2 separate regions of the Homo sapiens genome follow, and region 2 is linked to region 1. Evidence: promoter capture Hi-C in 16 types of primary human blood cells and fetal thymus (Javierre and others, 2016). All regions are on one chromosome and are shown on one strand. Each heading gives the region's core, a stretch centred on a gene start or on the middle of the fragment in contact. The rest is flanking DNA. Distances are from core to core; before and after follow the strand shown. Region 1 holds the start of CWF19L1 (CWF19 like cell cycle control factor 1). Region 2 has its middle 36 kb from the start of SLF2.

Region 1 (7,264 bases), core at 3,094-5,593:
TAGACAGGATTTTTTGTGGGTTTTTTTCGCTATTGAGTTGTTTGAGCTCCTTGTTATATTTATTCTGGTTATTAATCTCTTGTCAGATGGATAGTTTGCAAATATTTTCTTCCATTCTGTGGGTTGCCTCTTCACTTTGTTGATTGTTTCCTTTGCTGTGCAGAGCTTTTTAGTTTGATATAATCCTATTAGTCTATTTTTGCTTTTGTTGCCTGTGCTTTTGAAGTCTTATACAAAAAATTTTTGCCCAGATCAATATCTTGGAACATTTCTCCAGTATTTTCTTCTGGTAGCTTCATAGTTTCATGTGTTAGGTTTAAGTCTTTATCCATTTTGATGCGATTTTTGTATATGGTGAGAGATAGAGTTGAGTTTCATTCTTCAGTATAGGGCTATCCAGTTCTCCAAGAATCATTTATTGAAGAGACTGTCCTTTCCTCATTGAATGTTCTTGGCACCTTTGTACTTTTGGTATTGACATAAAATGAGTTGGCTGTAAATGCATGGATTTATATATGTTCCATTGGTCTATGTGTCTATTTTTATGTCAGTACCATACTGATTGGGTTACCATAGCTTTGTAGTAGATTTTGAGGTTGGGCAGTATGATGCCTTCAGCTTTGTGCTTTTTGCTCAGGATTGCTTTGGCTCTTTGGGGTCTTTTGTGGTTCCATATAGATTTTAGGATTGTTTTTTCTATTTCTATTTCTGTAGAGCAGCAGTCCCTAATCTTTTTGGCACCAGGGACCGCTTTTATGGAAGACAATTTTTCCGTGGACGCGGGGGGATTTTTTTTTTTAATGGTATGAACCATATTTATTGAAAACATTATTTCTGGCCTTTCTCAAATTGAAGACTGCAAAAAATAAAAGCAGTGCTTTATTGAGTTGTCATTAACCTTGAGAGCAGTGGCGCTGCCTCTCCACGCTCTGGGGACGGTGGAAACCGTGGCTGGTGCGTGCCACATCTATCACACCTCGGTCTACAAAACAGTCCTGACGTCAAATAAAACTATTGTGGCCGGGCGCGGTGGCTCACGTCTGTAATCCCAGCACTTTGGGATGCCGAGGCGGGCGGATCACGAGGTCAAGGAAATCGAGACCATCCTGGCTAACACGGTGAAAACTCGTCTCTACTAAAAATACAAAAACAAAATTAGCCAGGCATGGTGGCGGGTGCCTGTAGTCCCAGCTACTCTGGAGGCTGAGGCAGGAGAATGGCGTGAACCCGGGAGGCGGAGCTTGCAGTGAGCGTAGATCGCGCCACTGCACTGCAGCCTGGGCGACAGAGCGAGACTCAGTCTCAAACAAAAACAAAAACAAAACAAAACAAAACAAAAAAAACAAACGCTCGTACATGACATTTACATTAGAAAAAGAGAGCTGAAAGTAGGGATGGGGGGATGGTTTGGGGATGAAACTGTTCCACCTCAGATCATCAGGCATCAGATTCTTGTAAGGTACGCAGCGCCGTAGAACCCTCGCATGTGCAGTTCACAATAGGGTTCCAGCCTCTGTAAGAATCTGATGCCACCACTAATCTGATAGGAAGTGAGCTCAGGCGGTTATTCTCACTTGCCCACCGCTCGCCTCCTGCTGTGCGTCCTGGTTTCTGATGGGTACTGGTCCATAGCCCGGGGGTTGGGGATCCTTGCTCTATCTAGAGAATGCCATTTGTATTTTGATGGGGATTGGACTGAATCTGTAAATTGCTTTAGGTAGTGTTGTCTTTTTTCTTTCTTTCTTTTTTTTTTTTTTGAGACGGAGTCTCGCTCTGTTGCCCAGGCTAGAGGCTGGAGTGCAGTGGCTGGATCTCCGCTCACTGCAAGCTCTGCCTCGCGGGTTCATGCCATTCTGCTGCCTCAGCCTTCCGAGTACCTGGGACTACAGGCGCCCGCTACCACGCCTGGCTAATTTTTTTGTATTTTTAGGAGAGACGGGGTTTCACCGTGTTAGCCAGGAAGGTCTCGATCTCCTGACCTCGTGATCTGCCCGCCTAATTCTTCTAATCCATAAGCGTGGAATATCTTTCCTTTTTGTGTGTGTGTCCTCTTTCATCAGTATTGTATAGTTTTCCTTGTATAGATCTTTCATTTCTTTAGTTAAATTGATTCCTACGTAGTTTATATTCTTTGTAGCTGTTGTAAATGAGATTGCTTTTTTGATTTCTTTTTCAGATTGTTTACTGTTGGTGCATATAAATGCTACTGATTTTTGTATGTTGATTTGGTATCCTGAAACTTTTACTGAATTCGTTTATTATTTCTAACAGTCTTTTTCGTGGAGTCTTTTGATTTTTCAATACGATGAGTTTTTATGTCTTACTTTTGTATCCTCTTCTGGGAATTATTACCTGCTCATGTTTGGCAAACTTCTACTCTTCTTCAAGATTCAGTCTTGAGTGCTACTCCTGGGCAGTGCTGTATTATCCAAAGAGTAGGAAAAAATGCATGCTTATGTGCCAGCAAAGCAGAGCCACCAGTTATGAGGCAAGAAACAAACAAAAAAGAAGGCTTGTAGGCTGTGGGAAAAGCCAGAACTTTGTAGTTTTGTTTGGTTATTGAGACAGGGCTTGCTGTGTCACCCAGGCTGGAGTGCAGTGGCAAGGTAATAGCTCGCTGAAGCCTCCATCTCCTGGGCTCAAGTGATCTCCCCACCTCAGCCTCTGGAGTACCTGGGAGTACAGGCATACGGCCACCATGCCCAGCTAACTTTTTTTTTTTTCTTTTTAAATTTGTAGTAGAGACGAGGTCTGGCTATGTTGCCCAGGTTGGCCTTGAACTCCTGTTCTCAAGTGAACCTCCCGCCTCAGCCTCCCAAAGTGCTGGGATTACAGGCATGAGCCACTGTGCCTGGCCTGTAGTTCTTCTTTAATCTTATGTTTTATTAATTTTGAATTATTTAGATGCCCTTGATGAGTCTTCCTTTCCCCGCAGTCGTCAGGAACTCTCTCTTGTTTCCATTTCCTTACACACTTGTTTCCTACCACTTGGCCTGAACCCTTCAAAAAAGTCAATATTACAAAAACTAAAACCAAATAGGTAGGAGGGCTTTTGTAGATTAAAATAGAGACAGAACCAAATGCAAGTGTGAAACTTGATTGCATCTGAATCAAAACAAGCCCCAAATATAAAATCAGTTTGTAGGGAAATATGGAGAACTTTAAATATGGATGTATATTAGGTAATATTATTGAATAATTAATGTTAATTTTCTTAGCTGTGTTAATAGTATTACGGTTATGTAGGAGGATATCCTAATCTTAGGAGATAAATGGAGATGTATTCCTGTTGTCCGCACTTTATTTTATTTTATTTTTTGACACGGAGTCTCGCTCTGTCGCCCAGGCTGGAGTGAAGTGGCGCGATCTCGGCTCACTGCAACTTCCTCCTCCTGGGTTCAAGCGATTCCCCTGCCTCAGCCTCCCGAGTAACTGGGACTGCAGGTGCGTGCCACCACGCCCGGCTAATTTTTTGTATTTTTAGTAGAGAGGGGGTTTCACCGTGTTAGCCAGGATGGTCTGGATCTCCCAAAGTGCTGGGATTACAGGCGTGAGCCACTGCGCCCGGCCTGTACTTTACTTTCAAATGATTGAGTGAGAATGGAAGGGCTTGGGCACTTTGAGAGAAAGAGAACACAAGCAAATTTGCCAACATGCTGAGACTTACTGAATCAAGGTAATAGCCATTATTCTTTTAACTTTTTTTTTTTTAATTTGAGACGGAGTTTCGCTCTTGTTGTCCAGGCTGGAGTGCAATGGCGCGATCTTGACTCACTGCAACCCCCGCCTCCCTGGTTGAAGCAATTCTCCACCATGCCCGGCTAATTTTTGTATTTTTAGAAGAGACGGGGTTTCACCATGTTGCCCAGGCTGGTCTTGAACGCCCGACCTCAAGTGATCCGCCCGCCTCAGCCTTCCAAAGTGCTGGGATTATAGGCGTGAGCGTCCACGCCCGGCCTCTTAACTTTTTGATAGGTTAAAAACTTACAAAAAACGTGGATAGAGGGGGTCTGTCTTGCCCACTAGACCGATATGGTTAGGTTAGGTTAGGTTAGGTTAGGTTAGGTTAGAACCCGACATTGTGCTCTGTACTTCCTAGCCATTCATTCGCTTCAAGTGCTCTGAAATTTAATTTAAAAAATCATAGTTGGAATCCTTTCGGTCACTTTCTCTTTCTCCCTTCGTTCCTCCCTTTCCCTCTTGATTCTTCCTTGAGGCGCAAACACCTGAGAGAGGCTTCTGTCCCTCGGCGGTCTCCGTAAGTAAGTGAACCGTTATTGGCTGGAGGGCGCTGACGTCTGATTGTTGCGCGGTCGCATTTTTCCGGGGAGCGCGGATTCGCATTCCCAATTTTAGGTGGCAGTCGCAACCCATACTATTCGGACAGATGGCACAGAAACCGCTGCGCCTGTGAGTGACCGTGAATGGAAGCCTCTCTCCCTGTGTCTCTTTCGTGTGTGTAGGTGACGACACGGGCGGGAGTCTTTCCCATGACGGGAAGGGAGAAGGAAAAGGCGGAGAGACACGGGGCTGCTGGGGAGCTTAGGTGATGTCTTTGCCTGGCCGGGGCTGACCTCTTTTCCTGGCCCTTTTCGCTTCTGAGGGGGTTTCTCTTGGCGACGCTCGTTCGGAGAGGCGGAAGCTCCCAGAGTTAGGCCTCCTCCATCTTAGGGGGCAGTCCTGGCCTCTGACACATCCTTTCCCCTTCGTTTCTCCTGACCCCATTTATTTACTCGCCAAATAGCCATTGGGCCCACTGATGGGCCCTGGGCAGTGGTGGACAGAGTAGATAGGGACCCTTCCCTGGGGCATTTTTTTTTTTTTTTTTTTTTTGCGAGGAGGAGGGGTGGGGGTGGTGGTGAAGAGAGGGCTTCATGCAGCAAGTATTTATTGAAGAACTGCAGTGTGCCGGACGCTGTGCTAGGTGTTGCAACAGATGGAGTTCCTGCTTTAATGGAGCGTAGAGTCTAGAGGAACAGGTACTAAAGAATCCAGATAATGGGCCGGGCGCGGTGGCTGAGGCAGGAGAATCGCTTGAACCCGGGAGGCGGAGGTTGCTGTGAGCCGAGATCGCGCCACTGCACTCCAGCCTGGGCGACAGAACGAGACTCTCAAAACAAAACAAAACAAAACAAAACAAACAAAAAACAATACAAATAATGGCCGGGCGCGGTGGCTCACGCCTGTAATCCTAGCACTTTGGGAGGCTGAGGCGGGCGGATCACTTGCGGTCAGGAGTTCGAGACCAGCCTGGCCAACGTGGTGACACCCCGTCTCTACTAATACAAAAAAAAAAAATTAGCCAGGCGTGGTGGCGCGTGCCTGTAATCCCAGCTACTTGGGAGGCTGAGGCAGGAGAATCGCTTGAACCCGGAGGCGGAGGTTGCACAGTGAGCCGACACTGCACCTCTGCACTCCAGCCTAGGTAACAGAGTGAGACTCCGTCTAAAAAAAAAGGAATTCAGATAAATGTAAAGTTACCATAGTGATAGGGCCAGGCGCAGTGGCTCACGCCTATAATCCCAGCGACTCCGGAGGCCAAGGCAAGAGAATCACTTGAGTCCAGGAATTCAAGACCAGCCTGGGCAATATAGCAAGGCCCCGTTTCTACAAAAAATACAGAAAAAAAAAAAAATTAGCCGGGCGTGGTGGTCCCAGCTAATTGGGAGGCTGAAGCAGGTGGACCACCTGAGCCTGGGGAGGTCGATGCTGCAGTGAGCTGTGATCGTGCTGCTGATCTCCAGGCTGGGTGACAGATTGAAACCCTGTCTCAAAAAAAAAAAAAAAAAAATTGCAATAGTGGTAACTTTTGGGAAGAAAATATTCGTGAATCTGGGAGAGTGCATAAGAGGGGTATTTGGCTTAATGATAGGAGTCAAGAAGGCTTCCCGAGAATGTTAGGATTGAGCCTTGGGAAATAAGAGTAATCCATTGCTTAACAGCAGGGTTATGTTCTGAGAAATGAGTTGGTAGGCGATTTCGTCATTGTGCGAACATCTTTGAGTGTACTTCCAGAGACCTAGATGGTATGGCTTCCTGTACACCTAGGCTAAATGGTATAGCTGTACGTCAAGTTACTGTACTGAATACTGTAGGCAATTGTAACACAATGGTAAGCATTTTTGTATTTAAATATAGAAAGGGTACAGTGAAAACACCTGGCCGGGTGTGGTGGCTTATGCCTGTAATCCCAACACTTTGGGAGGCCGAGGTGGGTGGATCACCTGAGGTCAGAAGTTCAAGACCAGCCTGGCCAACATGGTGAAACCCTGTGTCTACTAAACATACAAAAATTAGCCGGGTGTGGTAGCGGGCGCCTGTAATCCCAGCTACTCAAGAGGTTGAGGCAGGAGAATGGCTTGAGCCTGGGAGGCAGAGGTTGCAGTGAGCCGAGATCGCACCACTGCACTCCAGCCTGGGCGACAGAGCGAGACTGTCTCAAAAAAAAAAAAAAAGAAAAAGAAAAAAAGAAAATACTGTATACAGGAAAAAAAAAAAGGGCACAACCTGTGTAGGACACTTATCATGAATGGAGTTTGCAGAACTGAAAGTTTCTCTGAGTGAGTTAGTAAGAGGTGAGTGAATGTATTACTTTACAGTATTGTAGACTTTATGAATACTGTACACTTCACCTATATTAAATTTATTAAAATATTATTTTCAACAGTAAACCTTAGTTTACTGTAACTTTTACTTTATAAACTTTAAGTTTTTTTACACTTTTTGACTCTTGTTATAACACAGCTAAGACATAAAACACATTGTACAGCTGTACAAAAATATTTTCTTTATATCCTTATTCTACAAGCTTTTTTCTATTACTTTTTTTTTCTTTTTACCTTTTAAACTTTTTTTTTTTTTGGAGACAGGGTCTCACTGTCGCCCAGGCTGGAGTGCAATTGTGCAATCACGGCTCACTGCAACCTCAACCTCCTGGGCTCAAGTGATTCTCCCACTTCAGCCTCCTGAGTAGCTGGGACTACAGGCGGAAGCTACCACACCTGGCTAATTTCTGTATTTTTTGTAGAGAGGGGGTTTTGCTATGTTACCCAGGCTGGTCTTGAACTCCTGGGCTCAAGTTACCCTCCTGCCTCAGCCTCCCAAAGTGCTGGGATTACAGACGTGAGCCACTGTGCCTGGCTTTAAACTTGTTTTGTTGCAAACTAAGACACACACACGAGTCTAGGCCTACACAGGGTCAGGATCATCAGTATCACTGCTGTTCACCTCCATATCTTGTCCCACTGGAAGGGCTTCAGTAGTA
Region 2 (7,264 bases), core at 1,795-4,294, 610 kb before region 1:
AAAAATTAGCCAGACGTGGCCTGGGCGACAGAACGAGGCACGATCTAAAAAAAAAAAAAAAAAATTAGCCAGGCATGGTGGTGGGCATCTGTAATCCCAGCTATTCTGGGGGGCAGAGGTTGCAGTGGGTCGAGATTGCACATTGCACTCCAGCCTGGGCGACAAGAGCTAAACTCCATCTCAGGGGGGAAAAAAAAGAAGTCTCTTCAGGCTCTGACGCTCTGAAATTCTGTATGAATCAGTGAAGGAGTCTGTTGGCTTTTTCTTGATCCCCCTCAACCCTGTACTCCCCACAATAATCATCTGAAAGACTCTGAAACCAAGTTAGTAGCCCAGAGAAATCTGCAGTGTCTCAGGAATATTACAGTCACTAAACGGAACTAATGTTATTTGCAGAACAGGGATGGGGTGAGAGCCAACTCATTCGGGATTGGGATTCCTGAACCCCTGGCCCCCAACTGTAACTAGGTTCCTGGATGTGCAAAGGGCCAGGGGTCTCTGTTCTGCCTTCAAGGTCAAAACCAGGACTTCTGATTCTTGGGAACCTTGGAGGCCTCTTTGTTCAATCATTAGCCCTTAGGGCTACCTCATGGCAGGGAAGCCCATGCTAAAGGCAAACACTCACTGAGGCGCAGAGGGGAAACTGAGCCAAAATCACGCCCAAAACTTAAGACTCCAGTGACTGTCCTTGGATCCTATCCTGGCCTCCTGTTCCCCCATAACAGCCCTGGTGTGTCTATCAGAGGTGAGCTGGACGGCTGGGGTGCAGCGGTCATCGGGGTGATGGGACCAGGTTGGAGGCCTGAGGCCAGCCCAGGGTGGCTACATGGCAGGTGGACACAGTTTCTAGTGAGCAGGAATCTGGCACCCTCTGCTGACCCCGCGGCAGGAGACAGCTGGTCAACCAGGCTAGGCTGCAGCCACCAGGAGGGGGAGGGGTGGGGTCCAGGACCAAGAGGCAGCTTCCAGTCAAAAGAGCAACTTCCCTTTCGGAATAGATCATTTTTACTGGTTTTGCAATAAGCTTATGAGACAGGAACAATAGCAATAAACAAACCGAACAAGAAATCGAAAAGATGGACCCCGAAAGCTGTTACTGAGCCCTTCTCACCTTCTCTTAACGAGTCTCTAATTTATAACAAACTCATCAACCCAGCACCTCCAGGGTTCCCTGGTTCCAGGTTGGGAACCCCTGGCCTCTGCCTTGTGTGTGACTTGTCATCTCCAGGGTCCTAAGACCTGGCTCCAGAGGTGGCAGGAGGCTCTGGCTAGTAGGAGGAACTGGCCCAGGGTTGTCCAGGGACTTCCATCATGGCTTCCTCTGGGAGGATCTGCAAAGTGTGGTCCTCCCCTGCCATGCACCCCCCACCCCTGCCCAGTAGGTCTCTCCAGAATCAATGGGGCTGGCTCTGGATGGCCCACTTCCCCAAAACTTCTGCTCCAACCCTCTGCCCAGCCCCAGGCTGCTGATGCAGGCATGGAAATCATGTTCCTTTCAGACTACCAGATTAGGGCTTGGCATGGGAAGCTGAGATAGCTGGGGGCTTCCAAGCCCCCAAATTCCATACTCCTCGGATAGGACTGAGGTCACTGCTGTGGGCTGAGGTTTTTCTCTCCTTAAGATGAGAAGATCCATTAGGGCAGAGCCATGTCTCTCCCCTTCCCCTCTTCCCCTAAAGCTAAGGCTGTCTGTGAGGAGGGCCAAATGCCTCCCATCAGACTGGGCTTCCAGGAGGCCAGGGCTGAGTCTCTTCCTTCACCTGGAGATCCCTGGGGAAAGGCTGTGTCGCCTCCCTAGACTGCAGTCCCCTGGGCCTGGGCCATGTTTCCTTACCTTAGACTGAGGCTGTGGGAATGTGGGACTACATTTCTACCACAGGCTGCAGCTCCCTTAAGCATCCATTTTTTTTCCAGTCCCTTTTGTCACCCAGTAACCCTGAAGCTTTTCCCAAGGTAGCCCCCTGTATTCTACCTGTCCGCGCTGGAGGAACAAGTCAGCCCCTGTGCCTTTCCTGGCAGCTGGGCATAGGACAGGGCATCAGGGATGGGAAGCAGTGTTCTGCCAACGACTTTCTGGGTTGGGCAGGGCTATGCTTCTCTGCAGGGGACTGAGTGTCTCCTTGTGAAGCCTGCAATCATTGGAGATGGCCACAAGATGTCAGCTCGAGGCTGTGGAAATGGCTCCAGTCCTGGGACTGAGCTCAAAAGGAAGGAAATCAGACAGCAGCCTGAAAGGCCCCCTCTGTCCCCCACTCAAACTCACAACAATGCTCCATCTCTCTACTTTGTCCCCAGTTCTTTGCTCCCAGAAGAGTGGGTTCTGAGGCTCCTTGACTTCCAGCTCTGGGAAGGATGGGAGCTGCTGCCCCTATTGCAGGCACCCTTGCTGGGAAGAGCCCTGTGTGCCTGTGTTCCCCTGTGTGTCCTTGTGGGTGTGGCTTCAGGCCACCACAGCCAGTGTGAGTGCTCAGGGCTGCCTGCGTTTGTGTGCAACTCTTGGCAGGAATTTGTGTCTGCCACAATAGACAGAGAAATTCAGACCTGAAAGGGCCCTTCGAAATCTCCCAGTTCAACCTGTTGTTTTATAGATGAGGAAACAGAGGCCCAGAGAGAGAGAGGAAATGGCTTGTCCAAGGCCACACAGCAAGTCCATGTTGAGCTGTTCCTGGAACCCAGGACTCCCACTTTGCAGCATGTGTGTGCACCCATCTGGGAGTCTGGTTGACCAGGACTGTGTGCCTGGTGTACTTTTGTGTTAGTGATTTACATCCAATGGGTCCTGGAAAGTTCCCTGACTGACCATCAGCCTGCAAGTTTCCAAACAGAATCACAAGGAAATGGGAAGAAGGAAGGCATGGAAAGGAAGGAGGGAGAGACAGAGAAGTACATATGCATGTAGATGCACATCTCTTTTTGCTTCACGGGGACGGGGTGTAATGTCAATGGTTGGATGTGTCTGTATCTCCCTAGGTAAGTGTGCCTGTGTCAGATACCTTGATTCATTCTGGTGTTGAGGTTTGAGTTTGTGTACATGCATGTGTACACGTGTGTACAGGGACCCATTTGTGGGACTGCAGGGAGTCGAGGTGTCTTTGGGGAGGCGTTGGTGCTTTTGGCTGGGTACAGTGTGAGCGATGGTGTGTGCCGCGGTTGGCGTGCCTGTCAGTGACTCTGGAGCGAGCATCGGTCAGTGGCCACGTGAGTGACTAAGGGTGTCAGTGAGCATAAAGAAGAGGCTGCTCCCTCTCCTCATCTCTTTGTCCCCAATCAGACTGTCTTCCCATGGCCCCTAAGGTTTCAGTGTCCCTGCCCCAGTAGCAGTGAAGAAATCCTTTATCGGTTGAGGCACCAGCCCCCGTGTCGGGATTTCAAGGTTCCTGTCGGTTCCATCCATCTTCCGGGGCCTCCTGGTATTAGCATTGATCTACAGGGGAAATGGAGAGCGCGGCTGGGTTATTACGCACCCACCCGCCTTCCCTGGGCCGTGATTGAGTGCACACAGAGAATTTTTGAAACATGGCCACCCTAACTTATTCTGTCTTCCTGCCAATAGCGTGGCATGGGTCCAAATTACGGGTCGATACCAGCTGATCTTTTTATGTTAAACTGTGATGAAGTTGCTTCTGTGGGGAGATGGTATTAGGCCCTGGGTCCTCTTTTATTGGAGAACTTTTGGGATGGAAAAGGGAGGGATGGAAGAGTGGGCAAGGGGAGTGGTCAGTCGGGCATCATGGAGGGCAGGTAGTGTGTGCATGGGCCAGGAGCATGTGCATGCCCGCAGGGGAGTCAGAGCTCGCTGCACTGGCCCTGGGATTCCCGGTTCTTGCCTGATTTCTCCCCCTTGTGACCCTTGCCACACTGGGGACCCTCAGGGACCCCCATCAGACTTTCCATCGCTCGGCCAGCCTGCCCCTGGTGAGGCCCCTCCCTACTTCCCTCTAAGGATAGAATTCTGTTTTCCTCTAGCCGCTTCCACCCTTCTCCCCCACCCCCACTCTACACACCTGCACCATCAAACGGGTTTGTCTTTAACCTCCAAACAGGGAACTTTAATTAAAGAGACAGTGACCCCTTTTATGAGTTTGGTCGAGTTGGGTTTCAGGGCCCTTGTCACTAGTGGCTCACATAACCCTAACAAAAGCTTGAAGGCCCCAAGAGGAGCCGGTCTCCCTCGTAGACATTGTGGTGGGGGCACGGGTGGGATGGGGGTGGGGGCATGGAGAAGGGGGAGGCATCCTTGGGTCAGGATCCCCAGTGACTGCATTGGTGAGGTTGAAGGTTGGGGGAGGGGACAGGTGAGGGGTATAGGGAGGGAGCACTGACACTGTGCAGTACCTTTGGAGCGCAACCTCCCTGCATAGGACAGCCGTCTGGACCCCAGCAGTGTAGCGGCTTCTCTCTGCTTGAAATGGTTAAGTTTCCAAGAGGGACTCCTGCGAATGTCCAGGGCTTGAATCCCATTTGCCTATGGACTTGTATTATAAAACTTGAAGTCATCTCCAAGAGGAATAGACTGGATAGAACTCCAAGAAGAGCTGAATTTTTTTACCCACATACTTAAAGGAAAAGTGGTTTTATGATAAAACATAATTGCTAATAACTATAATAACACCATTCAACATCTGGCATGAAACACAAATTCTGTCCTGAACCTGAAGGTGCAAACACCGCACAGCATACACACTGCCAAGAAGGGAGCTGGCCCTCCACATGGAAGAGCTAAATTCAGGCCTCACTGGGCCCCCTGCTGTCCACATTCCCCACCCCCAGCTCCCTTAAGGACCCCAAGTGTAGACGTCTAGTGGGTTCGTGTTGTGAGTTTGAAGGGCCCTTATCTTACATCCAATCACCTCTTGTTGATTTTTAACCAAGGGCTTCTGTAGGTCCTGTAAGGGATGTTTGCTTGCCCTTTGATCTGGTACTTTGATATCCTTTGTGAATTCTTCAGCCTGGAGAGGGCTGCCCAATCTGCCACACTTTTTCATTCAACAAACATCAGGGGCTGTTAAAAACAACCAGTGTGTGATTGGTTATTTCCAAAGGGATGGGTTTTCATGAAGTGGGGTGCACTCCCGTTAACCAGAGGCTGATACATTGTCAGTTATCTGCAAAAGGAATTAGCCACCTAAATGGTAATCCAGGGTTGCTCTGACCAGAAACTAAGGCTCAAACTAGCTAATTTGTGGAGATGAGACTCAAGGCCAAAACTGAATGAAGAAGATTCTCAGCACGCCCTCCACTTCCACTTCCACCATCACCATGGGTTCCTTGCTCCTCCTGGTGACAAGTGTGGTGACTGGATAGGGACACTTAGGTGGAATGTGGGGACACCTGTGGGGAGTCAAATGACCCACAAGGGCATACAGACCAGAACTTGCAACGTCATCACACCCCAGGTCTCCACATTCCCACGCGTGGACCTTCCCTTGTGCACATGCGTTCCCATGTGTGGACCTTCCCCTGTGCACCTGCGGCGTCACCTACCCACGTGAGTGGCCTATGTGTGTGACCTCACCCACAGAGAGAGGTCACAGCCCCTTCCCTCCTCTCTAGGGGAGAGATCTGGAGGCCAGAGGGGCCGGGGAGTAATTGGTTTTGGCGTTTCCTACCTCCGCTGCCCGGGAAGCTTTCTCTGTTTCATCTTCAGCCTGATCAATCCCCAGTCATGTGCCTTTCCACATGGACGCCCCCGACCCCCCAATTCACCATGCTCTCGGAAACTTCGTTAGTGCCATTAATCTGCTGACCCAAGCAAATCACCAACTCTTCCTGCAACACAGCCTCTCAATCCCTCCCCCAGAGACCACCCCCCCAGGATCTCCAGAGCTGGCTCACTCTCCTCTACCTCCTCATGTTCCCACTCACCCTTTTCTGTTTGGTACCCACCCCCAACCCCATCACTCCCAATCTGGGATTCTCCTTCCTCCTCATTCATGTCTGCACACTCAGCGCTTTCTGAGTCTTTTCCTGCATGTGTGTCCCAGCAGGAGCTTAGTCCGTGTCGGCCACCGGCACCCTGAAGCTGAAAGGGTCCCACGCACCTGCTCCTTAGTAGTAGAGGGTGTAGGGTAAGGCTCTGGCCATAGGAACCATATAAGGAGGAAACTAACAGGTACTGAGCCCTTACTGTGTGCCAAGCACTGTGCCAGACCCTTTTACCCAGTTAGATTATTTAATCCTCACAACCCAAGAGGCAGTCATTATTTTCTCCATTTTATAGATGAGGGAAATTGAAGTTTGAGAGATTAATTATTTGCTCATGAGTAGTAGAGCTAAGATTGGGACCCAGATCTGCCTGACTCATAAACCATTTTTTCTGCTGTATAGAAAGGAAGAGCACCCCCATCCTTGAGCCAGGCCCTAAGACCTAGAAACTTCCTATGTGAAGGAGACCCTGACATGAGGTTTGTTTCTCCTTTTTCCTCTGTAATAGCTAGGTCTTGAGGTGTGTGTGTGTGTGTGTGTGTGTGTGTGTGTTCCTATCCTCTTCCTTTCAGCCTAGGAAGCATTCATGGTACCAGCCCCCTGTTGGGGGCCCCAGGTTGCAGGCTGGTGCCAGGATGCACCCCACTCAGCCGGCTCCTGGCCGCACAGGAGAAGGCCCTGTTTCCTCCGTGGCCTCCATGGCTGATGTGCTGGGCCCATTGTCCAGGCAGAAACAAAGACTGCGGATTTAAGCCGAGTGACCAGGCGGCTCTGCCAAGCAGAAAAGACCGCCCCCCTCGAAGCTGGGCCCAGCCGGGGGTTAGGAAGGGGACCCGAGAGAAAGGGGACAGGGAACCTTTGAAAGTAACTAATTAAAGGGCCTTTGCCTGCCCCCTCCCCCTGGGCGCCTAATCTCTCTGGGGCAGCAGCCAGACAATGTGCCCCTCCACCCTGCCCCCCTCACCCGAGTTTTAAAACAAGAGACAACTTGAAGTTAATGAGCGCCACCTGACGGGGGTCCCCTAATGAGAGGGGGCTGCTGGGCAGCTCACACATTCTCTGGTTCCATGAATAGCTCCCCCCGCCCCCTGAGTTTTATTCATCTAGGGCCAGGGGCAGGGGGCAGAAAGGAAGGGGCCCTGCTCAGCTCGGAGCATGTGGACTGTGGTTCAGGGCAAGGAGGGGGCCCCACAACCCCCTCCCCCATGGCCCATGCCCAGCTCTGAGGCTGAGGCTTACCAGGCTTTGGCCTGAGACCTGGGTGGCCCAAGACCCATCTGGGTAGCTCAGGGCCAGCCCTGCTGCATAGGCTCTTGGTCACTGGCATTGCCACTGGCTT

Evidence for each region. The method cuts DNA at HindIII sites, captures the fragments that hold promoters and counts their contacts. A CHiCAGO score of 5 or more calls a contact.
Region 2: a contact is called between a fragment that was not itself captured here and the fragment with the promoter of CWF19L1 in region 1, in 1 of 17 cell types (fetal thymus). The highest score is 5.1, in fetal thymus.

Annotation. Positions count from the first base shown.
Region 1 is chr10:100,264,717-100,271,980 of GRCh38, reverse strand. It overlaps CWF19L1 (CWF19 like cell cycle control factor 1), which reads left to right and starts at 4,343. Exons shown (of 14, transcript NM_018294.6): 1 at 4,343-4,410. The coding sequence starts at 4,388. RefSeq lists an enhancer at 6,363-6,612. The HindIII fragment of the contact is 22,053 bases long and covers 1-6,810 here.
Region 2 is chr10:100,873,539-100,880,802 of GRCh38, reverse strand. No RefSeq gene overlaps it. Among named protein-coding and RNA genes, the nearest start is that of SLF2, 36 kb to the left of the region's middle. RefSeq lists an enhancer at 6,115-6,781. The HindIII fragment of the contact is 2,199 bases long and covers 1,945-4,143 here.